Linked DNA regions of Homo sapiens: regions 1, 2, 3, 4, 5 and 6 are each linked to region 7. Evidence: promoter capture Hi-C in 16 types of primary human blood cells and fetal thymus (Javierre and others, 2016). All regions are on one chromosome and are shown on one strand. Each heading gives the region's core, a stretch centred on a gene start or on the middle of the fragment in contact. The rest is flanking DNA. Distances are from core to core; before and after follow the strand shown.

The links. The method cuts DNA at HindIII sites, captures the fragments that hold promoters and counts their contacts. A CHiCAGO score of 5 or more calls a contact.
Region 1: a fragment that was not itself captured here is called in contact with the fragment with the promoter of RNF182 in region 7 in 2 of 17 cell types (total B cells and naive B cells); the score reaches 7.3 in total B cells.
Region 2: the fragment with the promoter of DTNBP1 here is called in contact with the fragment with the promoter of RNF182 in region 7 in 6 of 17 cell types (total B cells, naive B cells, activated CD4 T cells and 3 more); the score reaches 13.7 in total B cells.
Region 3: a fragment that was not itself captured here is called in contact with the fragment with the promoter of RNF182 in region 7 in 1 of 17 cell types (total B cells); the score reaches 5.4 in total B cells.
Region 4: a fragment that was not itself captured here is called in contact with the fragment with the promoter of RNF182 in region 7 in 1 of 17 cell types (naive B cells); the score reaches 5.5 in naive B cells.
Region 5: a contact is called between a fragment that was not itself captured here and the fragment with the promoter of RNF182 in region 7, in 1 of 17 cell types (naive B cells). The highest score is 6.6, in naive B cells.
Region 6: a contact is called between a fragment that was not itself captured here and the fragment with the promoter of RNF182 in region 7, in 5 of 17 cell types (activated CD4 T cells, naive B cells, total B cells and 2 more). The highest score is 12.7, in activated CD4 T cells.

What each region holds. Positions count from the first base shown.
Region 1 is chr6:15,510,511-15,513,210 of GRCh38, reverse strand. JARID2 (jumonji and AT-rich interaction domain containing 2) reads right to left here. Exons shown (of 18, transcript NM_004973.4): 13 at 1,810-1,915; 14 at 821-1,003; 15 at 166-296. Among named protein-coding and RNA genes, the nearest start is that of DTNBP1-AS1, 34 kb to the left of the region's middle. RefSeq lists an enhancer at 1-420. The HindIII fragment of the contact is 8,599 bases long and covers 1-2,700 here.
Region 2 is chr6:15,661,578-15,664,277 of GRCh38, reverse strand. DTNBP1 (dystrobrevin binding protein 1) reads left to right here and starts at 1,250. Exons shown (of 10, transcript NM_032122.5): 1 at 1,250-1,464. The coding sequence starts at 1,409. RefSeq lists a silencer at 1,254-1,763 and an enhancer at 1,994-2,043. The HindIII fragment of the contact is 5,039 bases long and covers 1-2,700 here.
Region 3 is chr6:15,534,104-15,536,803 of GRCh38, reverse strand. The region is part of intron 7 of DTNBP1 (dystrobrevin binding protein 1); the gene reads left to right. All of the region lies in intron 2 of LOC105374947 (a long non-coding RNA gene), which reads right to left. Among named protein-coding and RNA genes, the nearest start is that of DTNBP1-AS1, 11 kb to the left of the region's middle. RefSeq lists a silencer at 1,560-1,760. The HindIII fragment of the contact is 1,391 bases long and covers 735-2,125 here.
Region 4 is chr6:15,644,726-15,647,425 of GRCh38, reverse strand. All of the region lies in intron 3 of DTNBP1 (dystrobrevin binding protein 1), which reads left to right. Among named protein-coding and RNA genes, the nearest start is that of DTNBP1, 17 kb to the left of the region's middle. The HindIII fragment of the contact is 4,613 bases long and covers 1-2,700 here.
Region 5 is chr6:15,605,844-15,608,543 of GRCh38, reverse strand. All of the region lies in intron 6 of DTNBP1 (dystrobrevin binding protein 1), which reads left to right. Among named protein-coding and RNA genes, the nearest start is that of DTNBP1, 56 kb to the left of the region's middle. The HindIII fragment of the contact is 2,746 bases long and covers 40-2,700 here.
Region 6 is chr6:15,626,420-15,629,119 of GRCh38, reverse strand. It overlaps DTNBP1 (dystrobrevin binding protein 1), which reads left to right. Exons shown (of 10, transcript NM_032122.5): 5 at 1,645-1,777. Among named protein-coding and RNA genes, the nearest start is that of DTNBP1, 35 kb to the left of the region's middle. The HindIII fragment of the contact is 2,566 bases long and covers 1-2,556 here.
Region 7 is chr6:13,923,561-13,926,260 of GRCh38, reverse strand. RNF182 (ring finger protein 182) reads right to left here and starts at 1,309. Exons shown (of 3, transcript NM_152737.4): 1 at 1,238-1,309. RefSeq lists an enhancer at 1,914-2,414. The HindIII fragment of the contact is 2,801 bases long and covers 1-1,884 here.

The DNA.
Region 1 (2,700 bases), core at 12-2,511, 1.6 Mb before region 7:
TTTAGTGACGGCCTGCCATGCTCACCAGCAGAGGGGACACACGCACCCCACACCGGCCTCCCTGCAGACACACCCTCCTGTCAGGAAGTGAGGCCTGCTCGGGGGGTGAGCCCCCGAAGGGCAGCCGGGTCCAGCTCTCTGGCGTGGGCTCTGGGGGTCTGTTACCTGAGCTCATCCAGGAGGGCTGAGATGGTACTGAGAGTGGGACCGTTTTCTTTTTTTGCTTCTGCTTGTGCAATCTGGTAGAGTAACTTCTCCATGGAGAATGGCTTAGCTATATGGCGACGCTTCATTTCCTGAAAGAGGAGTCACATCCCTTTAGGGTGGATTTTCATTACTAGGCAGCTGTCAAGGTTCTTCTTGGTGGAGGGGGCAGGCAGGCTGTCTGAATTTCTAAATCTTGAATTGCATTTAGATTAAAAACTCTTCAAAACTTTGCCTCCCTGTGAGAAAGGCACCACATACCAGGAAAAGTCATAGCACTTCGCCGCTACCCAGAGGCAGCTGCCACTCCCTCACGATGGGTGGAGGTTCTCTGTCCATTCTAAGCAATTACCTTGAGCATCTTCAACAGTTTTCCAATACTGGAGGGGTCTGTCAGTAACGGTCTGATCAAAACTCTTTGTGATACAAACAAATCCCTAACAACTTTTCATTCCTAGAAGACCTTTCAACCACGTCTTAAGAATTTCAAAGACATATTCCAAAAGGAACTATTGACAAATAGACACGCACACGCAGGGATGCTTCTGTGTGCGCTCACGCACGGCACTCACAGGGATGCGGGGGCAGCAAGCGGGAGGAGGCCGGCTCTGCTCACCTTGGCGGTCTCAAAGCCCATACTTGTCCACTGGGTGGTAGCAAAGTGCACGGTTTCAGACACGCTGTACCCACAGCACACTTTGGACACAAAGGATCCCGGGAAGCAGACGACAAACTGGCCACTCTGCTGCACGGTCCTGTGCACCTTGATCCCCTCTTTGCACAGCACCTCCGGGGAGATCTGGGGAGACAGGGCCAGGCTGAGGCACCCCTCCCTGTGCGCAGGGACACCTGCAGTCTTCAGGTGACGTATGCGCACCCTAAGAGGCCTGCTCTCAAGGAGATAAGATTGTTTTATGTGGAAAATAAAAAGACGTCATTCATAACACAAGAAGGAGCTTCTAAACTGCACTGGTCCAAGAGTGATGACAGGTTCATGCACAGCTGAGGACATGATGACCACACAGGCCCCTCTGTCCCCACGTGGCAATGCCAGGGCTGGAAACAGGACAAGGTTACACAACCAGGAGGCTGCCGGGCTCATCTCCAGAGCCAAGTAGGCCACAGGCCCACAGGCTGGGCTTACAAAGGAGTCCCCCGTCCATCTCTTCTCTAAGATGGACAGGCGGGACCGGCAGGGTCAGCAGAGGCCAGAGAAGCTGGTCAGAACTCAGCTCAAAGCAGCACTTCCCAGGAACTCACCAGCCCCATGACTTCCTGAAAACAGGTGAAGAAGCCTTTGTGCTCATTCCTCTCACATGCCCAGAAGGTAGGAGCGGCGGGCACAAGAAATCCCAGGGCCCACAGCAGCCCACAACACAAACAAGCCCCAAAACAGATGCAAAGGCCGTGCAAAACCCCAGCGCCCTGTGCAATCTGATGGAAGGTCAGTTTGGCTTTTGTGTCAGAGGACCTTTCCCTTTGCACCCTGGGGATTTGTTTTGCTGTGTCCTCATTGCCTTTGAAAGGCGGGTTCATGGGAAACCATGTTCAAGTGCCTAGGAGGTCCTACAGCTCCTGCTGGAGGCGGTGGCTGAGTGGACGCACCATGACGTTGCTTTCCAGCATCTGCAGCCCTGGGGTGCCATTGGCTTGCAGCAGGGTGTGGACCACATCTTCCAGCTTGTTCTCCTCCTCAGCAGGAATGCAATACCTGGGTCATTGAGAGACACAAGAGACAAGCAGAGACTTGACAAGGGCCTCCTGCATGTACTGGGCCACCCCCGTCACCCTCAGGGACCCGAGCACACGAGAGGCTCTGCTCCACGCCGGCAGGGATGGCGCACTGGCCTGGCTGGGTGCCTGGTCACTGCTGGCTCCCATTTCCCATGGCAGCAGTGCCACGTCCACCTAGCACACAGCCAAACCACAGTGCATCCGCGTTGCGAGATGCTCATCTTTTATGGAGATCTGACCCACCTGGTGAGCCAAAAAGCCTTCAAACCACAAACAGATGTTCACAAACCCCTAGAAATCAGAACCAGACACACTGCGGCCTCCACGAGCCTCTTCTGAGGCTCCAGCACTGCACCCTCCTTCTGTTAACAGAGGCCACTGCAGGAGCAGCACCTGATAATGTCCTCACAAGGAATACGTGGCTCCCTCGGCCCTCCAGACAGGAACAGTAAACCCTGCCCTCTACAAATGCACAGAGAGTTGGGGAAGGAGCCAGGCTCATGCACATGTGCCACCTCAAGGCCAACTCCTTGGCAGATGCTGTGGTGAAGTAGGGGTCAGGGGATAGCTAGGGGCCCCCAGCTCTGCTCCCCACTGGAGAGTTTTACGTGTTAGGACCCAGCCTACCCGGCATCAGGCACATACAGCAAGACACACAGGAGGATCAAGGGCTCATAGGCCTCTGTCAGAGGGTGGCCTGGGGAAGTGGTGGCTCACAGACCCTCCAGGGTATAACCATGGCAGGGGTCCTCAAGTGTAAGA
Region 2 (2,700 bases), core at 1-2,500, 1.7 Mb before region 7:
GGCTGCTGTGTCAAGGATGGATTATAGGGGTGTGTATGGCAAAAGAGTAGAATCTGGAAGAACTGTCTGTGTTCCCATTGAAAGAGGATGGTGCCTTCGACCAGGATAAATATAGTGAAGATATAGAAAGAGAAGGAGGTTCCAGAAATACTTCAGGAGTAGAGTTGATTGGATTTGATGGGTTAATATGGGGAATGAGGAAAAGAGGGGAACCAGAGGTGATTTCAAGTGTCTTACCTTGAGCAAATTGGTGGATGGTGGTGTCATTTACTGAAACGGAAAATACAGGATGAGCAGATTAAAGGTGAACATGCAATGAATGAAATTTTCAATTTTGTGTATGTTGGTCTGAGATGCCTTTTGGATACATGTTGTATACATGCTTACATGAGTAAGCAACTGGTATGAATTGACGGAGAGGGAGGAAGGACAGGGCAGAAGATAGAGCTGTGGGAGTCATCGGTTCCTTGACAGAATTTACAGCGTGGTAATGGATAGACTCTATGCTATCCATCTATGGAACAACACATCTGGAGAAGAGAGAAGAGCTGGGGAGGCTGGACTGTAGCCTTGGGAGTGGCTATTAAAATAGGAGAAGGGGTGGAGCGGAAGGGAGAGAGGAACTATGGAGTGCTTAGCAAGAGAAGAAAGTGTTTTAAGGATGGGGATGATAAACTGCATTGAAAGCCACTGAGAGGTGGAGAAAAAATCAGGGCAGAGAAGTAATAAAAGGCATCAGCAACATGGAAGTCACTGGTGACTCGCGAAAGGCGATCACCTTTGGTGTGTAGGGCACAAAAGCCTGGGGGGGTAAAGAGAGAGTGGAAAGTAAGAATGTCGAGACAGTCGACTATTATTGCCATTTTATGAATGAAGAAACCGAGGCTCAATATTTGACTGTCTCATTCAAGGTGAAAGCCAGTGGGGTCAGATCCTGGACCTAGAATCCATGCAATGATTTGTGCACATCGCCTATTGAAGAGAGAGATCCAATTCTCTTCCAAAACGTAAAAGCCAACACTTCCCTCAAAGGAGGCTTCGAGTTAAATCATCCTTTCACGATGCCGCTTCCATTTTAAAGAAAAAAAAAAAAAAACGAGAAGGCCTGGTGCGGGATAGGAATGAGCCGAGGAGCTACTGGCCCTCTCGGTCGGGGGAAGACCCGCCCCTTTTCCGCAGCCCGAGCCCGGCGCAGTCCACTGCGGCTGCGCGAGCCTGGCGCGCGCGGGGCGGGAACGCGGAAGGGGCTGGGGTTGCGGCGCGGCGGCGAGGACCAGACCGGGGGCGGGGCCGGTAGTGGGAGTGCGGGGCGCGCGGTGACAGCGCGGGGTTGGCGGCGTGGGACCCAGGGGGCGACAGAGGCAGCAGCAGCCCGAGGCCTGAGGAGAGGAGACCGGCGGCGGCGGCAATGCTGGAGACCCTTCGCGAGCGGCTGCTGAGCGTGCAGCAGGATTTCACCTCCGGGTGGGTATACGGTGGGCGACGAAAAGGGACCTGAGGGGGCCGGGCCGCCGCCTGGGATGCCCCTGCCTCGCTCCCTTCCCCGCGCCACGGTCCAGGGTCCGTCCTGTCCCGCACCTCCCCGCCCCGCCCCGCCGAGGAAAGTAACGAACTTCCCGGCGTCCTCGCGTCGGGCGGCGCAAAGTAACTTAGGTCCCTGCGGGCCGCCTGTGACGCGCACCCCCCAGGACCGGGAGGCGCTCGGCGGCGCAGCGGAGCGCCCGGGGGGGGTGTGGGACCCTGCGGTCCTTTCCCGGCAGCATCAGCTGGGCCCTGGAGGGAAGTCATGTGAGAAGCCAGCGCGCCTCACCGCTTCCGCCCCCGCGGCACAGTGGCCTGCGCCCCTCGGCCCAGCAGACACCTGCTCGTGCGCACCTGGAGCTGGGCCAGCCACCCTCCCCGAGTCGGATCGCACCGCGCAGCAGCCTGCACCCTCCGGCCACAGCCTTCCGCGCCGCGTCTCGGCTTTCACGCCCGGCTCGCCGGCCTAACCCTTGGCAAGGCTGGCCGCCCCTCCCCGTTGCGTCCTTTCTCTACCTTTGCCGTGAGCTCAGCGCCTCGGCGAAGGAACTCCTAAGCAGGAGAAGCGACAGAACTTTAGGAATGCTTTTAATACCCAGCGGTTCCCAAACTTTGCTTAGAATCACCTGGGAACCTTTCAGAGTTCTGATGCCCAGGTCTCACCCCCTACCTGTTGACCAGAGTGCCTGGAGACGGCGTTTTAAAGATCCCCAGGGGATTCCAGTGGGCACCAACGCCTGGGAACCACAGGCCGAGACTCTGGCGCCAGATTGCCTAGGCATCCTGGCTCGACCACTAAATCAAACGTAGTTACTCAGCTGCCTTGCCTCAATGTACTGTTTCCGCTACCGTAAAATGGGGATAATGATGGTACTTAAAAGGTTATTACAAGGATTAATGAATTAATGTGTAAAACACGAAGCAAGCATCATGTCAGTATTGTTACTTAGTGCTTAATTTTAATTTTTTCATTCCTTTAAAGTGAAAAAGATCTGTCTTTGAAAAGGATCTTTCAACTTTAGCTTACAAATCCTGTTGGAGGATGCACTGAATGTGAGAACATTTCCACTCATACTGTTTTAAATTTCTCCCCCCCACCCCCCTTTTTTTTGAGATGGAGTCTTGCTCTGTCACCCAGACTGGAGTGCAGTGGCGTGATCTCGGCTCACTGCAACCGCC
Region 3 (2,700 bases), core at 181-2,680, 1.6 Mb before region 7:
TTCATGGTGCAAGCTGTCAGTGGATCTACCATTCTGGGCTCTGGAGGGCAGTGGCCCTCTTCTCACAGCTCCACTAGGCAGTGCCCCAGTGGGGACTCTGTGGAGGTGGTGGGGCAGCAACCCCACATTTACCATTTGCACTGCCCTAATAGAGATCTCCATGAGGGCTGTGTCCCTGCAGCAGACTTTTGCCTGGACATCCAGGCATTTCCATACATCCTGGGAGATCTAGGCCAAGGTTTCCAAACCTCAATTCTTGACTTCCGTGCACCCGCAGGCCTAACAGCATGTGGAAGCTGCCAAGGCTTGTGGCTTGCACCCTCTGAAGCAATAGCCCAAGCTGTACCTTGGCCCCTTTTAGCCACGGCTGTAGTTAGAGTGGCTGGAATGCAGGGTGCCATATCCCAAGGCTGCACAGAGCAGCTGGCCCCTGGGCCTGGCCCACAAAACTATTTTTCCTCCTAGGCCTCAGGGCCTGTGATGGGAGAGGCTGCTGCCAAAATCTCTGACATGCCCAGGAGACATTTTCCGCATTGTCTTGGCACTTAACATTCAACTCCTTATTACTTATGCAAATTTCTGCAGCTGGCTTGAATTTCTCCCCAGAAAATGGGTTTTTCTTTTCTGTCGCATTGTCAGGCTACAGATTTTCTAAACTTTTATGTTTTGCTTTTCTTGTAAACATAAGCTCCAAGTTCAAACTATCTCCTTGTGAACACATAAAACTGAAAGCTTTCAGAATAATCCAGGTCATGTCTTGAATGCTTTACTGCTTAGAAATTTCTTCCACCAGATACCCTTAATCATTGCTCTCAAGTTCAAGGTTCCACAGATCTCAAAGGCATGGCAAAATGCCACCAGTCTGCTAAAGCATAGCATGAGTGACCTTTACTCCAGTTCCCAATAAGTTCCTCATCTCCATCTGAGACCACCTCAGTCTGGACTTCATTGTTCACATCACTATCAGCATTTTGGTTGAAACCATTCCACAAGTCTCTAGGAGGTTCCAGAGTTTCCCATATCTTCCTGTCTTTTTCTGAGCCCTCCAGACTGTTCCAACCTCTACCCGTAACCCAGTTCCAAAGTCCCTTCCACATTTTCAAGTATCTTTATATCAATACCCCACTCTCTCCAGTACCAATTTGCTGCATTAGTCAATATTCACACTGCTATAAAGAAATACCTGAGGCTGGGTGAGGTTGCTCACACCTGTAGTTCCAGCACTTTGGGAGGCCGAGGCAGGCAGATCACTTGAGGTAGGAGTTTGAGACCAGCCTGACCAACATGGCAAAACTCCATCTCTACTAAAAATACAAAAAATTAGCTGGGCATAGTGGCGTGCTCCTGTAATCCCAGCTACTTGGGAGGCTGAGGCACAATAATTGCTTGAACCCAGGAGGCAGAGGTTGCAGTGAACTGAGATCGCACCACTGTCACTGCACTTCAGCTTGGGGAACAGAGTAAGACTCTGTCTCAAAAAAAATAGGTAATTTATAAACAAAGGAGGTTTAATTGACTCACAGCTCTGCATGGCTGGGGAGGCCTCAGGAAACTTATGATCATGGCAGAAGGGGAAGCAGGCTCCTTCACAAGGTGGAGAGTATGAGCATGTGAAGGAGGAACTGTCAGACACTTACACAACCATCAGATCTAGTGAGAACTACTCACTATCACGAGAACAGCATGGGGGAGACTGCCCCCATGACCCAATCACTTCCCTCCCCTGACATGTGAGAATTACAATTCGATATGAGATTTGGGTGGGAACACAGAGCTAAACCATATCACGTGCCTTGAGGAAAAGTTAAACTACTGGAAAGTGTTTATAGCTGGGAGATTTGGGGTTCTTGCTTGAATGACCAGGTGAAGGTTAATTATGTTAGTGTTCTTGCCTTGTATATTACTAAGGCTTACCTTGAAGGGTCACTGGTCCCTTAAATTATAAAATTTTTTCACATCCTTTCATATGTTTCATATCAATATTGGGTTAATATTTCTATCCCAAATTTTCAGATGAGAAGGTTAACTGATTAGGTTGTGTGGTCAGTAAACACTAAAAAGCCAAGATTAAGCACTTTGTAATACACCATGATGGCTACATACTTACTTTTTTTGTTCCCAAGCTTTTTTTTTTTTTTTTTTTTGAGACAGAGTCTCGCTCTGTCTCCCAGGCTGGAGTGCAGTGGCAAGATCTTGGCTCACTGCAACCTCTGCCTCCTGGGTTCAAGTGATTCTCCTGCCTCAGTCTCCTGAGTAGCTGGGAATACAGGTGACTGCCACCATGCCTGGCTAATTTTTGTATTTTTAGTAGAGATGGGGTTTTACGGTTTTACCATATTGGCCAGGCTGGTCTCGAACTCCTTACCTCAGGTGATCCGCCTGCCTCGGCCTCCCAAAGGGCTGGGATTATAGGCGTGAGCCACCGCGCCCGGCCCTGTTCCCAACTTTTTACTGTGGTAAAGTACACATAAAATTTACCATTTTATGTGTACATAGAATTCATAAGTGTCCAGCTGAGTGGTATTAAATATATTCATGCTGTGCATCCATCACTACCATCCATCTCCAGATGTCTTTCGTCTTGTAAAACTGAAAATCTGTACCCATTAACCACTAAGCTCCCACGCCCTCTCCCCAGCCCTGAGAGCACACTTCGTGTCTCCATCCATCTGACTGCTCTAGGTACCTCATATGAGTGGA
Region 4 (2,700 bases), core at 182-2,681, 1.7 Mb before region 7:
TCCAGAATTTCTTATTGGTTCCTTTCTGTTTTATATCTACCATTGGTAGATATAAACGGTAGTGGTATTGATGTTACCATTTTGTTCATGTATCATTTTTCACATCTGACTGGCATGAGATTGTATGTATCTCATTTGGTTTTAATTTGCATTGCTCTGATGATTAGTGATGCTGAGCATTTTTTTCATCTTTGTTGGCTTCTTATATGTCTTCATTTGAGAAGAGTCTATTCATATCCTTTGCTCACTTTTTAATGGGGTTGTTTTTTCTTGTTCATTTGTTTAAGTTCCTTATAGATTCTGGATATTAGTCTTTTGATGGATGCATAGTTTGCAAAAACTTTCTCTCATTCTGTAGGTTGTCTGTTTATTGTGTTGTTTCTTTTGCTACGCAGAAGCTCTTTAGTTTAAGTCCCATTTGTCATTTTTTGTCACAATTGTTTTTGATGTCTTAGTCATAAATTATTTGCTTAGGCCAGTGCCCAAAAGGGTTTTTTTCTAGGTTTTCTTCTAGGGTTTTTATAGTTTGAGGTCTTACATGTAAGTCTTTAATCTTGAGCTAATTTTTGTATATGGTAAGAGGTAGGGGTCCAGTTTTGTTCATCCATAAATGGCTAGCCAGTTTTCCTCGCACCATTTATTGAATAGGGTGTCCTTTCCCCATTGTTTATTTTTGTTGACGTTGCTGAAGATCAGTTAGTTGTAGCTGTGTGACTTTATTTCTGGATTCTCTATCCTGTTCCATTGATCTGTGTGTCTATTTTTATACTAGTACTATGATGTTTTGGTTACTGTAGCCTTGTAGTATGGTTTGAAGTCAGGTAATGTGATGCTTCTAGATTTGTTCTTTTTGCTTTGGATTGCTTTGGCTATTCAGGCTCTTTTTTTGATTCCATATGAATTTTAGATTTTTTTTTTCTGATTTTGGGGAAAATGGCATTGGTAATTTGATGGGAATTGCACTGAATCTGTAGATTGCTTTGGGCAATGTGGTTATTTTAATGTTATTGATTCTTCTAATCCATGAGCATGGAATGTTTTTCCATTCGTGTCATCTATGATTTCTTTCATCAGTGTTTTACAGTTCTCTTTGTAGAGATCTTTCACTTCCTTGGTTATATATACTAGGTATTGTATATGTGTGTGTGTGTGTGTGTGTGTGTGTGTCTATTGTAAATGAGATTGAGTTCTTGATTTGGTTCTCAGATTGAATGTTGTTGGTGTATAAAAATGCTGCAGATTTTATTTTTATTTATTTTTTAATTTTTATTTTTTAGTTTCTCAAATGAGTTGATGCTGTGGAGTTTTGTACATTGCTTTTGTATGTTGAAAAGTTACTGAAGTTGTTTATCAGGTCTATGAGTCTTTTGGAGGATTCTTTAGGGTTTTCTGGGTATGTAATCATGTTGTCAGCAAACAGAGATAATTAATTTGTCTTCATCTTTTCCTATTTGGGTACCTTATATTTCTTTCTCATGCTTGATTGCTCCAGCTAGGACTTCCAGTATTATGTTGAATAGGAGTGGTGAGAGTGGACATCCTTGTCTTGTTCCAGTTCTTAGGGAGAATGCTTTCAACTATTGCCCATTCAGTATTGTGTTGACTGTGGGTTTGTCATATATGGCTCTTAGTATTTTCAGGTATGTTCCTTTGATGCCTTGTTTGTTGAGGATTTTCGTTATGAAGGGATATTGAATTTTATCGAATGCCTTTTCTGTGTCTTTTGAGAAGATTATGTTATTTTTGCTTTTAACTCTGTTTATGTGGTAAATCACATTCATTGATTTGTGTTTGTTGAACCGTCCTTGCATCCAAGGGTTAAACCCACTTGATCATGGTGAACTATCTCTTTGATGTGCTGTTGGATTTAGTTTGATAGCATTTTGTTGAGGATTTTTGTGTCTATGTTTATCAGTAATGTTGACCTGTAGTTTTCTTTTTTTGTTATGTCATTGCTAGGTTTTGGAATCAGGATAATACTAGTTGCATAGAATGAGGTGAAGGAGAAATCTCCTCTCTTCAATTTTTTGGAATAGTTTCAGTAAGATTGGTACCAGTTCTTTGTACATCTGGTGGAATTTAGCTGTAAATCCATCTGGTCTAGGGCTTTTTTTGGTTGGTAGATTTTTTTTATTATTATTATTACTGATTGAATTTCGTAACTTGTTATTGGTCTGTTCAGAATTTCAATTTCTTTCTGGTTCAGTCTGGAAGGTGATGTGTTTCTAGGAATTAATCCATTTCCTCTAGGTCTTCTAATTTGTGCACATAGAGATGTTCTTAGTAGTCTCTGATGATCTTTTGTCTTTCTGTGGTGTCAGTTATGATGTCACTTTTGTCATTTCTGATAGTGCTTATTTGAATCTCTTTTCTTTTTTTCTTGGTTAATCTAGCCAGCAGTCTGTCAATCTTGTTTATCTTTTCAAATATCTAACTTTTTGTGTTGTTGATACTTTGTATGGTTTTTTTTTGGTCTCAATTTCATTTAGTTCTGCTCTGATCATAATTATTTCTTCTGTTAGCTTTGGGTTTAGTTTGTTCTTGCCTTTCTAGTTCTTAAAAGTGTGGTGTTAAGTTGTTAATTTGAGATCTTTGTGTGTTTTGGTGTAGTCATGGAGCACTGTAAATTTTCTTCTTAATACTGCTTTTTCTGTATCTCAGAGGTTTTGGTATGTTGTGTCTTTATTTTCATTTGATTCA
Region 5 (2,700 bases), core at 163-2,662, 1.7 Mb before region 7:
GAGACACCAAGGGAATTTCTAGGGAGGTGGTGAGAAGCTTCAGCAATCCTAGAGAGCAATTCATATTGGGACAGGAAGGCCTTCTGGAGAATTCTAAGTAGTGTTTCCAAGGGGGAAAAAATGAAGCTAATGCATTGTCTTATCGGCGTGGCAATATTGAGAGGAGCTTTATGACTCCTTTATTTATTTATTTATTTATTTATAACTTGAATTATTAAACTCTGGTGGAGGGTTTAATGAGGAATTAGAGATAAATGTGTGTGTTTTTTTTTAAACCAAGCAAACAACAACAAGGTAGATATTAACACTGAGGGGAAACAGTTTTTAAAAAAGAGAAATAATATGCTACATGGCTCAGTCACAAACAGTATTTATGTGATATTGGAATAATTAAAAGCAGAATTGTGATAAAACTTGCTGGGGAGATGGGGGAGAAAAAGCATATTTGTGTTGAGGGGAATTAGAGGTGTAAAATAGCTAATCCTCATCTTCTCCAGCAGGAAATCAAGAAGTAATATTTAAAATTGAAAAAAGAATAAATATTAATATTTGCATATTATTTAGAAATAACAGAGGTAAATGCCAGGAAAAATAACTGAAAGAATTGAACATGGCTGCTTGTGAAAAACAGGGCAGAAAGGTGGAGAGAGCTGGGGCAGGGACTACTTGTCTTCACTATAAATACATCTCCTGGGTGCTCTTTGACTTCAGGAATGGGTATGTACTATCAACATGCAAAAATTGAATTAAACATTTTTTAATTAATTCCATATAACATTCCCTGAATTCTTCTGCATGGAATACTAGACTGAAAAGGTTGCCATTGATAAAACAGTATGTGATCAGATAAGCTCCAGAAACACTTTGCATTTGCCCACGGAGCTTTGCAGTGTGCATCAGCGTGCTAAAGGTTCTGAGAATTCCTGTGGTAAAGAAATGTTTTGCTGGGCACGGTGGCTCACACCTATAATCCCAGGACTTTGGGAGGCTGAGGCGGGCAGATCATGTGAGGTCAGGAGTTTGAGACCAGCCTGGCCAACATGGTGAAACCCCATCTCTACTAAAAATATAAAAATTAGCTGGGCATGGTGTTGCATGCCTATAATCCCAGCTACTTGGGAGGCTGAGGCAGGAGAATCCCTTGAACTCCGGAGGTGGAGGTTGCAGTGAGCCAAGATCGTGCCACTGCACTCCAGTCTGGGCAACAGAGTGAGACTCTGTCTCAAAAAAACAAAGAAATATTTTGGCCGGGCACAGTGGCTCATGCCTGTAATCCCAGCCGAAAGCGGCAGATCACTTGAAGTCAGGAGTTCGAGACCAGCCGGGCCAACATGGTGAAACCCTGTCTCCACTAAAAATACAAAAATTAGCTGGATGTGGTAGTGGGTGCCTGTAATCCCAGACACTCAAGAGGCTAAGGCAGGAGAATTGCTTGAACCCAGGACCGGGAGGTTGCAGTGAGCTGAGCTCACACCACTGCACTCCAGCCTGGGTTACAGAGTGAGACTCTGTCTCAAAAAAAAAAAAAAAAAATTTTTTTTTGACTCAGCATTTCACAACTTACTTGCTCACAGAATCAATTTGCATGTAACACATATTAACATTCTGTGACTTAGTATTCTACATAACACCATTTGAGAAATTTTCAAATACTGCCAGTGAAAAACTTTTAATTTTCTGGTTCATAAGAGATGAGTCGCTTAAAAATAAACCTTCTTCCTTTTTAACAAGATGCTATGCAAACTACACTAATGACTTTTCTTACTCTGAAGAAAACGATAATATGTGATAGAAAAAGTTGGATATGTGATATGCTTATGTGCATGCATTTTTTTAACAATGTTTGCACACCCTGTAGCTTTCCCAAAAATCCGGGCCAGAACACTGGATGAAGGTGGGGAGAGTGGGAGAATGAAAGATAATTTTTCACACTCCTCCAGTGCTAATAGGCTCTGCAATAGGCTCCTATGGCTTTTCTCATTCAGCTCCCACCAGAGCCTGTAGTGTGGGCAGGGCAGCAATTTTTGGAGTTGAGAAGGAGATTGAGTTGCATTAAGTCATCAGACTATTTAGGGGCCAGCATCAGAACCAGAGTCTTCAGTCCAAGGCTCCCACCACACCACCACACCAACCCAAATGTGTCTTCTTTTTTGATGTTAAGTTGGAACAAACTGATTGAGTCCCAGATGTTTATACCAGTGCATCTGTAGTTTCAAATGGATATATGATATTTTGTCATTCATTTGACGGACGTTCCCAGCAGAGAGAATACATTCCTGCCCCTACAAAAACAGGACTGTGACCCATTATAAAATAAATAAACACAAAATAAAATAAACGTGACAGTGGCTTCCTAGTCAGGGGATTCTCCCAGTGGGTAGGGAAATATACAGCCTAGGGATGGTTCTGATAGCTCTTACCTACCCTTGAGAAACATTTGAATAGACGGTTTAATCCACTTCATTTGTGCAGTAAAGTAGGACATCTCTCTTTAGCTAGTTATCTGAGAAAAGTGCCATCTAAGACACTTGTGTGGTTGTACGGGGAAAATACCCATAAATTGCTTTTCTAAATATTTTTCTGCATGTAAAATGATATTACTGTTACCAGTGCCTTTGTAGACTGGAACGGACATTGCCTTGATAAACAACAAAACATTGTGTAGTGGCTAGAATATGGCTATAGGCAAAGACAGGTACT
Region 6 (2,700 bases), core at 24-2,523, 1.7 Mb before region 7:
TACTGCATTTTAGCTGTTTTTTCAGTATGTTTTAAGCTACTTTTAAAGATTTTTTTTAAAGACCAGTTGGCAACAGACATTTTTAAATACACAAAAATAATGAGAAATGCGGTTTGCGTGAAACTTGATGTGGCCTCCCAGCTCAGTTGAGGCTTGAATGTGAGAGATTATGTGTTTATCCCTCCAGCGTGGGCTGAGAAACCACAGGGAGATGTGTCATAGCTTAGTTCTTTATTTCAAATGAGAATTCCTACTATAGTGAAATGTACGAACAAAAACAATCTAGTACTACATACAAATAATTTTGTATCTTTGATATATTCATTCCTCCAAAGTTCTTTCTTAATTTATTAAGTGGAACTTAGTAAGAATCAGTTGTATTCAGATTCTAACTCTTAAAGAGCCTTAATCCTGGCCGGGCACAGTGGCTCATGCCTGTAATCCTAACACTTTGGGAGGCCAAGATGGGTGGATTGCTTGAGGCCAGGAGTTCAAAACCAGCCTGGCCAACTTGGTGAAACCCTGTCTCTACTAAAAATACAAAAAATTAGCCGGGTGTGGTGGTAGGTGCCTGTAGTCCCAACTACTGGGGAGTCTGAGGCAGGAGAATCGCATGAACCTGGGAGGCGGAGGTTGCAGTGAGCCAAGATAGCACCACTGCACTCCAGCCTGGGCAACAAGAGCGAAACTTCGTCTCAAAAAAAAAAAAAAAAAAAAAAAAGAACCTTAATCTTGAGATGTACAAATTGTCTGTTTTGAATACTCAAATTCATTTTCTTCTGTCATATAATGGGTTTTGTTACCTTTATTTTTTATCGTACAGATTATGGAGTTTTTTCCACAGTTCTTGCTTATTCATGTTGATATTTTCAAAAGATCACCTCTTCTTGCTCCTTCTAAGTCTTTCTAGGCCCTTGTCCCTCCCACTATGTTAAGACCAAAACAGAATTGTCTGGGAGAAACTAATGTCTGTCATTTTCTTTATAGTCTTTAGCAAAAGAAGTTAGAATTATCTTAGGCTATTCTAGAATTTCACAACCTTGCTATTAGGAACCCTTTACATCTGCTGAATTCCTCATTAACTTAAATCATTTCCTCTTTTTCTGGAATTCTGGAATTGGCCAGTTTCCTCAAAATTCCTTTATATACTTTATGCAATAAGTATTCCTGTTTAAATGTAAATTGAAACATGGTATATTCTAAATGTATTAGGGAACTTTTCTTTGAAGACTTCCTTTCGTAAAGCCAATAATTACCCGTTAATTATGTTTTATGTTTGTTTTCTTTTTGGTTGTTAGTGGTAGTTTTTTGTTTTTGTTTTTTTTTTTTCTAGATTTAGCTTTTCAAATACATGGTCTGCTTAAAACAGGGTATACTTAGAAGTGACTTCTGAAGTCATTTTTAAACTTTCTCTTCTGTGGGTTAAGATGCACTGATACAAGCAGTAATTGGAGGTTTCCTGCACTGAATATTAAGTTGTTTCTTTTCTAAAAATGAAAACAACTTCAGTCTCTTTTAGAATGTACCGTAATCTCTACTGAGTAGAGGGGTTGTTAAAGATAACATTAAATCTCATTACGTTAACTGTACTTTCTTTGTGCCTAAAACCTGGTTTCACTTTACCCCCCTTCTTGTGTGCTGCAGCTGGTGGATAGCGAGGTGGTCATGCTTTCTGCGCACTGGGAGAAGAAAAAGACAAGCCTCGTGGAGCTGCAAGAGCAGCTCCAGCAGCTCCCAGCTTTAATCGCAGACTTAGAATCCATGACAGCAAATCTGAGTAAGTCCAATGTTTTCATTGTACATTACTTTTAGGAATGAAAACAACTTGGGCAGGGTTTGGTGTAATTTCAGAGCTTTTCAGGAACACATGAAATTCTGGGTTAACAGGATTTTTTGGAAAATCATGATTTCATATTTTGATTAGTTGAGGATTCCACAGAAAATGATGTAAAGTGTAGAAATTAGTTCTGTTTCTGCCTCAGGTCAGCTCCGGACACATAATTATAATTATGTTGATTCTTAAAGTGACTCAGGTTGTCTTTGTTGACATTTGGTCTCTGTTTAAAAGCATACATATAGAAAATGGATTAGGTGACTTTGTCCTTACTGTAGAATGTATTCCAGAAATTGTTGCTTTTAAAATTTAGATATGCTAGAACTTCATGTCTTGTAGTGTATTTTTTTCTCTTCAAACGGATTGGAGATCAAACAAACCTGGTTAAATGAGGGTACTTGTGCTGGGTGTGGTGGCACGTGCCTGCAGTTGCAGCTATTCTGGAGACTGAGGCAGGAGGAGTGCTTGAGCCCAGGAGTTTGAATCCAGCCTGGGCAACATAGTGAGACCTTGTCTCAAACAACAACAACAACAAAGTAAATTAGGGTACCTGTTTGGCTAAATTTATACTCTGTGGAAATTTATTTTTTTGTCGTTGTTCATTTGGATGGATTATGTTGGTATTCTTTTTTTCTTGGGTTTATATTCAGAAAATTATCTTTTATGTTTGATGATGCCACATCTAAGGATAATATTGCAGCTTACTATTTCCTAATCAAGCTTAAGATCTTAGTAAAGTAGGAGGTAGGAGCTGTCTGTATGAGCTAATAACCTGTTTTAGTCTTTTAGGTGGGAAGCTAAAGATACCCTATTATCTCCTCCTGTTTTTAATATTGCCTTATTCAAAGCAAAACATGACTGATTTA
Region 7 (2,700 bases), core at 60-2,559:
TTTTCATTAATTACTCTCTAGCAAAAATATAATTTCTTGCATTCCATATAGTTCTTTAAATGACCTATTCCAACTTATACATTATTTTACTAAGTTGGATATACAATTTTATATGTTAGATTATTTTCCAGTTATCAATATGACATCTCATATTGTTTAAATATGATTTAAAACAAATCTTATTAACATATATACAATTTCCTTCTGAATTGATCAACTGTATTTCTGAAAATGTATCTGTTTTCTTTCATATTACTACATGTAAGATGATGTCTAAGTACCAAAAAAAAAAGTCTTCACAGTCACAATTTAAATCTGTGCTTCGCGTCTGCAACAAACTATCACGAAATGATTGCAAGGGTTGGGGCCACTGAGAAAGGTACCTATAACCTATCCAGTGCCCCAGTGGCAACCGCATCGTGGTCCTCATCATCCCACTCATAAACACCGATGCAAACACCGCCCAGCTACCTGCCTCCAGAGGTGCTTTGGATTGCCTCCCTACACATAAAAACAAAAGGCACTTTCCAGTTCCTTACAGCATGAACACAATACCTTCTAGAAACAAAAGCAATGACCTCGGTGCCAAGTATCTCCTTGACAAAGTATCGGTACTGCTCTACATTCTGGTCTTGCTAGTCGGGGAAAGCCGGGCTACCCTTACCATCCAGTTATAGGTGCAACTGCACCTTCCAAAGAAAAAAAGGTCTTTCGATTCAATATCCAAACGAACTTCAGAAGCCTCCTCAAAATGCTTCAGCCACAGGCATAAAAATGGGCTCACTTTTCAGAGATTCGTAAAAATCTTTCGCTTGTCCCTCTTACTACCCTCCCAACCCCTCCTCAAAGAGAATGCCATGAAACATGAAAGTCCAAAGGTAAATACTTTCATACCTTTTTTTCCCCCAAAAGCCTCGATGGCACGCCAAGAAGGAAAATAACAACAACAACAGAGGGGCAGCTCCCTGAGCAGGTGCAGCCCGCGCGGGCGCTCCGCAGCCGCCCTCCGCCGCACAGCCCCTCAAGTTGGTGCCAGGACGGCGGCCCCCGTGGTGCCCGGAGGGAGACTCCGCGCGCGGGCCCCGGCGCCGCTCGGCCCGAAGTTTGCCGCCCCCTCTCCTCGGCGCGCTTGGGCGGCCCGGCGCCGTCCAGGACTGCGGGGCTGGCTGCTGCCCCAGCGTTGGGGAGGCCCGGCGTCCCGCCGACCCCTCCCCGGCCGCGGGCGCGATCGCCTTACCTGGCCGGCGGCGGCCCAGGGCCCGGGAGCCGCTCCGGCTGCGGCGGCGCCTGGGAGGGGAGGGAGGTTCCCGTGGAGGAGGAGCTCGCGCGAGGAGCTAGCGGGCTGGCGGGCGGGCGGCTTTGTCTCTACGGCGCTGAGCCGCCGACCCTGCGTCACCATGGCAACCGCCGGGGCCCCCCCGGCCCTTCCCCTCAGCAGTCCGGGTATTCGGAGAGGACAAGGACCCCCGATGGGCCGCCACCACCACAAACACGCCCCTCTCTCAGTCTCCCTCACAAACCGCCTGTTTCTCCCCAGCGAGAGGGGAAGGCTAAAGCGGAGCGAGCCCAGGGCCAAGTGGTATTCGCATCCTAGTAGGCACTCCTTTGCTTCCCCACACTGGACATTCCAACTCCCGTCGCACCACCATCCCCCCCACAGACACCCTCCACCACTACCACCACCACACCTTTCTCCTGTGGAGCTGTACCCTCAAAATGGAAATTCACTTAAGGGAGGAGAAAGAGCAATGCAAAGTGATAAAGTGTTGAGCAACTGGTACTCGGTTCTCCTGTTGCAACTGCCGCAGCATGCACGGAGCTGCCAAGGGACGCCGTGCCGCCTCCTCCCTCTCCCCCTCCTCCTCCTCTCTCTTTTAGCAAGCTTTGCCTCTGCTGGATGTGGTCTCACTCCACCCAACCCGTGTATCTGTCTTGTTGAGGGCTCCCGTAGGAGAGAGGGGAAAGGGGGCTTTATCTCTGATGTAAACACTGGATACACTTGTAACCTCAGAAGCTGAAACACAACTTTCAGGCTGCAGTATGGATCTCAGCTGCTGCCACACTGCGCAGCTACTGGCTGTGACCGCTAAGCATCTACCATGAGCCCTGAGTGACTCTGTGCCAAGGACTGGTCACGTACTGCAGGCCATGGCACTCAGGAGCAGAGAAAAGAAAGCTAACTTTTTCCTCTCCTGAGGAAATTCTTAGAGAGGGAGAGAAAAGTACCAGCAGACCCTTGGTCATGCTTCCTCTAAAGGACGAACTAGAGGGCAGCCTCCATGGGGGGAGTGAGTCATCCCTCCATACTGTTTTCTTGAAAGATCCGTTGCTGAATCCAAAAGCTACAGTGTCTTTCTTCAAACCCTGGGGAACATGACATTTATTTTTTGGCATTTGTGAATCACCAAAGGAATGTCAATGATTTATAATAAAATCCACGGTAGCTGATGTTTTCTGGGTTTACTACTTGAGAAGCCACAAAGCAGAACAATGTTATTGCCATTTGAAGGTACACCTATATTAACTAATGAAAAGATAAGATCTATTTCATGGTGGAAAAGGAAAACAGTTTGTTCCTCGGAGAGACTGGCCACTTTCTTGTAATGGGAATATTCTGAATGAAGTCAATAATATTCCAGATGAAGTCAAAAGACAAGGTCTTTTTGGCAGGCCATTAAGCATTTGGCAATACCTGCCAGA